2 separate regions of the Homo sapiens genome follow, and region 1 is linked to region 2. Evidence: promoter capture Hi-C in 16 types of primary human blood cells and fetal thymus (Javierre and others, 2016). All regions are on one chromosome and are shown on one strand. Each heading gives the region's core, a stretch centred on a gene start or on the middle of the fragment in contact. The rest is flanking DNA. Distances are from core to core; before and after follow the strand shown. Region 1 holds the start of PPM1A (protein phosphatase, Mg2+/Mn2+ dependent 1A). Region 2 holds the start of ACTR10 (actin related protein 10).

Region 1 (3,075 bases), core at 482-2,981, 2.0 Mb after region 2:
CGTGGTGGCAGGCGCCTGTAGTCCCAGCTACTCGGGAGGCTGAGGCAGGAGAATGGCATGAACCCGGGAGGCGGAGCTTGCAGTGAGCCGAGATTGTGCCACTGTACTAGCCTGGATGAAAGAGCGAGACTCTGTCTCAAAAAAAAAAAAAAAAAAAAAAAAAAAAGTGAAGGAAACAGAACCTTCCCCAAAGTCATGTTGAGAAAATTAGAGATGGCTTTTTACAACTTTAAAAGCAGCAGCTAAATATTTGCTGAATGCCAGAAAGAATAAATAGGTTGCTTTTGATCTAAGAGTTGGGGCAACAAAATGGTTTAGGAGATAGAAAGTAGTAGGGTGCAAATTGCTATAGTGAGCTCCTCAAGTAAAATAGAGAGGCCTTCAACATAAATTTACCTTTTTTACTGGCCAGAACTCAATTTGGCCAGTAAAAGAACCTGCCTTCTACAATGAAGTCTTTGGTTTGTGTGTGCATCAGAACATCTTTTAAAAATACGGACTTTTCTTCTAACTTCTTTTCCTGCGAATGTGGTGTAGGTCAAATTCGTGAACTGGTTAAGCCGCTGACAAGAGAGGGAAGGGCACCCCAGCCAATGGGAACCCGTGCTGGTGATGTACTGCTCCTAGGCTGCGATTCATTGGCTGCCTAGGGTTTGTCATTCTATCCCCGGCGTCTGCAAGCAGCGTGGGTCGGGTTTTCCAGCTAGCTAAACTGGATTTTGGCCGCTGGCACGTGCAGTTTCTATTAACTTTAGCTCATCTCTACCTCTTAATAGAAGCAGCTGTTATGTTTCTGATTATTCTCCTGATTTTGAAAAATCCTGTTCCCTTAACCTACCTCATTGGAGGTCGTTGGAGGTCCCCTGGGACAGAACCACGTGATTATCTAACATGTGCAAATAAATACAATGTGGAATCCCCTGAACTATAGAGGGAAAACCTGCCAGAAACTCAGAGCATGTGCCCCGTGCGTGAATCAGTTGCACTCGCACATTGGTGGGCGGTGGTAGCGTGCTTGTGTCTCTGCCCTTTGGGTCGCGAGGTGTGTGGCCGTGGCACCTGCTTGGGCTTCCTGGGGTCACTGGGAGAGGAAGGCTCTGGAGGAGTGGGACTCTGGGGTAGGGGGGTCTGGCAGCTGCCTGGGACCCACCATGGGTTCGAAGGGCAGCGGCCAGACCGCGACGGCGCCCAAGAAGGGTGGACAGCTTCGGGTCTGTGCTCGGGGCTGCGTGTACACCATCTTCGCAGGGAGTGGGGTTTGTATCTGCAGGCAGGTAGAAGAGCCAGGGCTCCGGGCGCGGACGCCGTAGGGGTAGCTTCCGAGTCCCTACTTGGCCAAGGGCCGGCACGGAGGGGCTGTCGATCTACTGGGCACCTAATAGCCGCACATTCTGTCCAGTCCCTGGCGCCGGAACGTGAAGGCCCGGGTCCTGGCTGCTATCCGGGATCCGGACGCTCCCTTCGGCTTCGGCCTGGTGCTCCAGGCCGTAAGGCAAAGGCGGCGGCAGCAGCAGCGGCAGAGAAAGAAGCTGGGTAAGGCAGTGACGTCATCTGTGGCGGCCCCTCCCCCGCCCGCCAGCCCTCACCGCAGTTCCTGCCCAACGACATCCGGGTCTCTGTAGCTGCGCGCCGCGCCGCAGCTGTAGCGGCGGCGGAGCCAGCGGGGCGGGGCGAGCGGAGGGGTGGGGGAGGGGCGACGCGGTCGTGAGCGCGCCTGCGCGGGGCCGCGCTAGAGGCGGCGGCGGCGGCGGTGGCGGCGCTAGGGACGGGAGCGCGCGCGGGAGCTAGAGAGCAGTGGTCTCGGCGCTCGTCCGGCCCGCAGCTTCGGGTCCTCAGGCGGCTGTTGCTCCGGAACGGGTGGTTGGGGAGGGGGGGGTGGGGGGACTCTAGACAGCTGAGGCGCGAAAGCGATGAGTCCTCGGCTCTTCCTCCTCCTTCTCCGGGACCCGCTCTCTGCCTCCCTCTCCAACGCCCGGATGATCTGAGCCGCGAGGGCGCCGACAGCCGGGGGCCCGGACGCAGCCCGGCTCCTCCCCTCCTCCGCCCCTTCCCCAGCCTGACCTGGCCCGCCGCTGCAGCGGTGACCCCTCCCCCGGCTGCCGCCGTCGCCGCCGCGGTGACCCCCTCCCCGGCTGCCGCCGCCGCCGCCTCGGCCGACCAGGGACCTGCCCGCCTGCGGCTGCTCCGGGTAAGTGCGGCGCTCGGGCCGACGGCGGGCTGGCGGGCGGTGCGGGCCTGCGCGGCGGCGGCGGCGGGCAGGCCTGGGGCCTGTAAACAAGCCGGGCGTCTGCCCGGGCGCTCCCGGGAGGAGACGCGACAACTCCACCCCCTGGCCGGCCTCCTCCCCCGAGCCGGGCGGCGGACGGCGAGGGGTTAACGCTCGGCGAGGGCGGTGGCGGGGAGGCGGGGGCGGGGTGTTAGTTGCGGTGGCGCGGGGAGGGGGCGCGACCCTCTGGCCGTCCGCGGCCGAGATGGGTGTTTGTGGCGGCGAAGCAGGCGACGGCCGCAGGCCGGCCTGGCCGGAGAGCGGCCTGCAGAACTTTTCCCGAGCGGGGAGGGGGCGTCCCCGCGCCCCCACCCGCTCGGGCGCGCCGCCCCGGCTGTCCTGGGCTTCAGCCCCTGGGAGGGAGGCGGGGAGACTTCCTTTGAACCGGGCTTAGCCTCGAAAAACCTAATTCTGTAGAAATTGCTTAAGGTTTTACAGGGGGCAGGGCTGAGAGACTCCTTCAGAACTCAAGTCAGTGAGTGATGCCTCTAGTTCATTCATTATTAAGGCATCGAACAAATCCATTGAAGTAAATTCCGATTTCTTATCCTTTTAACTACGTAAATCGGGTAAAACTTCTTGATGTTAGAGCTTGGTTGAGGTATGGTTCTGTTCTGCTTGTAGATTTTAAATAAACTTGGAGCCTTTTCTTGAAAGACAGCTGGCTGTGGAGAGCCTTCTACCAACTGCAGTTTTAGATACGTTTTGAAAATTTCATCACCTGAGGTATTTTTCTTCTCTCCTGAAACACCACATGGTACAAATCCACAAAAGTCATGCTTCAGTTGTCCAAGCCATGGGATCTGTGT
Region 2 (2,945 bases), core at 150-2,649:
ATTCCAAATTTCTGCATTGTTACAGCCTTAGTTTTTGTTATGGAAATAGCTTATCCCCAACTACCCCGCTAACTCTAGTTACCAACCATTAGAGTAGGGCCTTTTTTTTTTTTTTTTTTTTTTTTGAGAGACAGGCTCTCACTCTTGTTGTTGCCCAGGCTGGAGTGCAGCGGCACAATCCCGACTCACTGCCGCTTTAGACTTCTTGGGCTCAAGGGATCCTCCCGCTTCGGCCTCCCAAAGTGCTGGGATTACAGGTGTGATCCTGCGCTCGGACAGTTGGGACATCTTAATACAGTATAACCTCATCTTAACTTGATTACATCTGCCAAGACTCTATTTCCAAATAGGGTCACATTCTGAGGTTCCCAGTGGACAAGAATTTTGGGGGGGGGGGCATCATTCAACCCAGTACACCAGCTAAATGTTGCTAGTCCTCACCGATTTACCCTTGAACCTCTTTTCTTATTGCACAGCCTCTCCTTTGACAGTCTTTTCCACTCCTATGCATAGATACAGTTAGAGCTAATATTTGCAGGAAAAAAATATTTTCACAGAAAGCTGTGAAGTGACAAAGATGTAAACAGTAATGTAAATGTTAAAAGTAGTGGCAAAAACAGCAATTACTTTTGCACCAACCTAATAGGGGCCTTTGCTTCAATGTTTCTTCTATTAAACCATCCCGACCGCTCCTCTATGGACAGATTCAAGATTCACAGACGCTACTCTAGCTGCTTAATTCTGGAGTAAAATAAAAACTTTCAGAAAGACTACTAACTAAAGTATTGTCTGTACGTATTATTCTCTAAAGCATCATTAGCATAGGCTTTGCAATTAGGAAGTCTGTGGGTTTGTTCCTGGCTCTGCCGTGGGACATTGGGAAAGTTAATCTCTCTGAGCGTCGGTCCCCACAGATAAGAAAACACATATTCTTGTTATTTCTTGAGAAGATTAAATATTAGGCAAAACGCCTAGCACAGAATAGGGTCTCAGCATCTTCTGCCCCCCAAGAGCATGAATCAAAGGTTCGGAATTGCGTCGTCTCTCGGCTGCCCCTTGGCAGCCAGGTCCTCAGTGACCTCTTCACAGTGAGCTGAGACCGAACCTCTTCACAGCCGCGCGTGGGTGCGGCTTTGGGGCGTGGTGGGAGGGAAGGATAGGGAGGCCGGCTCCGCCCCCTCAGGGCGACCGGCGCGCCTGATCGCCGCGGCCTCCGCGCCCCCGCACTCGGATTCGCGCCCGCCAGCGCCTCTTTTCCCCTAGTCCTGGCGACGGCAGCACCTGCAAGGGTGGGTCCAACGCGGAATGAGGCACAGCCTGGGACAGCCCGGGCCCGGCGCGCCGCGGCCGCGCGAGGCCCCCGCCGTCGCCGACGCCCGAGCGCCGGAGCCCCGGCCCCGCCCCGCGAGCGCCGAGACTTGTTGGCCGCGGAGACTGCGACCCTCTTCTCTCAGTCTGCCTTACTACCATGCCGCTCTACGAGGGCCTGGGGAGCGGCGGGGAGAAGACGGCGGTCGTGATCGACCTGGGAGAGGCCTTTACCAAGTGAGTGGCCGTGACGCCAGCTGTGTTCGACCCGAGGGGAGGGCGGGTGGCAGAGCCCCAGGCACTGCCTGGGTCCTCATCGCCGACTCGCTGGGCAGCTCCGGGCCTCCCCTTTTCTTCAACCAGCGCCCTTGCAAATAACAGCTCTTATTATTTCCTCCCTGGGCGATGCGAATCCGAGGATCGGGGTCTGACTCCCAGAGAGGCCCAGAAAGCTTCTGTTGAATTGCCCTCGTCGCCGCCCCTTGTCATCACCCCAAACCCAACAAACCCTTTGGGATCATCTGTGTAGGGGATGACAACCGTGACCTAGACCCCGCTTACCCTGGGCTCCTCAGTTGAGGAAGGCAGCCAACCGAATGTAAATGCTCGATGACGAATTTCATCATAAAATATTGAACGGAGTTTATTTTGGTGCTGAAAATGGAAAGATGTTTAAGACAGGGCTATCGCTGCTCAAGAATTAGGGAGACTGGGCACATTAAGAGGTGAAACCCTATAGATAAGATTCTGGAAATCCTTTGTTGGCTCCCCTAAACTCGAAGGTTAGATTTGACATGTTTTAAACAAACCAACTTGTAAACAATAGAGAGGAGGTTCTCAACCTTTCGGATGGCATAGATCTCTTTAATGGCTGGATGAAAACCACAAATGCACAAATCTTAAGGTACTTATACACAGTTTCAGGGAATTGGCAGACAATCAATGTGGTCCTGGGACCCTAGATTAAGAGTCCTTGTGATGGGCTCAACAGAGAGGGAAGTAACAGGCAATTACATCATATATGTATTTATGAAAATGAAACATTTGAAAAATCTTTTTATATCTCTAGGCACTTCCTGACGTGTAGTAGGTATTTAATAACTATTTATTGACTAAGTGGTTAAAAGAGCCTATTTAAAAATTGGACCCCAGGAACTCCAGAATTGGATTAAACATAGTCCTTGGTTAATGACATTCTCTTATTGTTCTATGCGAGGCCCTTCCTTATTTATATTTTCTTATTAAAATTATTTTGAAAGCGTAATAAACAGTTCGAGGCTTCTAGTCAAAGATAATTATTTTGGCTGTACTTGGAAGAAATAAGCAAAAAGCTATATTTGAAAAAGACAGCAGGAGGATGATAAGATAAATGTATGAAGTAAAAAAAAGGAATTGAAGTCTAATGGCTTGCATTCTGAGATGTTTGAGGAGCACTGATGCAAGTAAACATGGAGACGGGAATAGGAGGAGATGGAGAGAATTATTTGGGAATACGAGGAGAGCAGTATCAAAAACTAGACAGGACAAGAAGACAGGATGTTAAGACTAAACTAGTATGATGATCATTTTTAGCAACGTTTTTAGCAAATTTTTGTTTTACTAACATGAAACAAAAATGGAAATACCTAAATACTCAA

What was found. Contacts are between HindIII fragments. The CHiCAGO score rates a contact against its expected background, and 5 or more counts as called.
Region 1: the fragment with the promoter of PPM1A here is called in contact with the fragment with the promoter of ACTR10 in region 2 in 2 of 17 cell types (naive CD8 T cells and naive CD4 T cells); the score reaches 5.1 in naive CD8 T cells.

Annotation. Positions count from the first base shown.
Region 1 is chr14:60,247,490-60,250,564 of GRCh38, forward strand. It overlaps PPM1A (protein phosphatase, Mg2+/Mn2+ dependent 1A), which reads left to right and starts at 1,732. Exons shown (of 6, transcript NM_021003.5): 1 at 1,732-2,188. RefSeq lists enhancers at 286-535, 1,078-1,806, 1,116-1,165, 1,226-1,575 and silencers at 1,676-1,775, 1,976-2,715. The HindIII fragment of the contact is 6,782 bases long and covers 1-3,075 here.
Region 2 is chr14:58,198,750-58,201,694 of GRCh38, forward strand. ACTR10 (actin related protein 10) reads left to right here and starts at 1,400. Exons shown (of 13, transcript NM_018477.3): 1 at 1,400-1,545. The coding sequence starts at 1,469. RefSeq lists enhancers at 843-972, 1,593-1,782 and a silencer at 1,043-1,432. The HindIII fragment of the contact is 4,366 bases long and covers 1-1,758 here.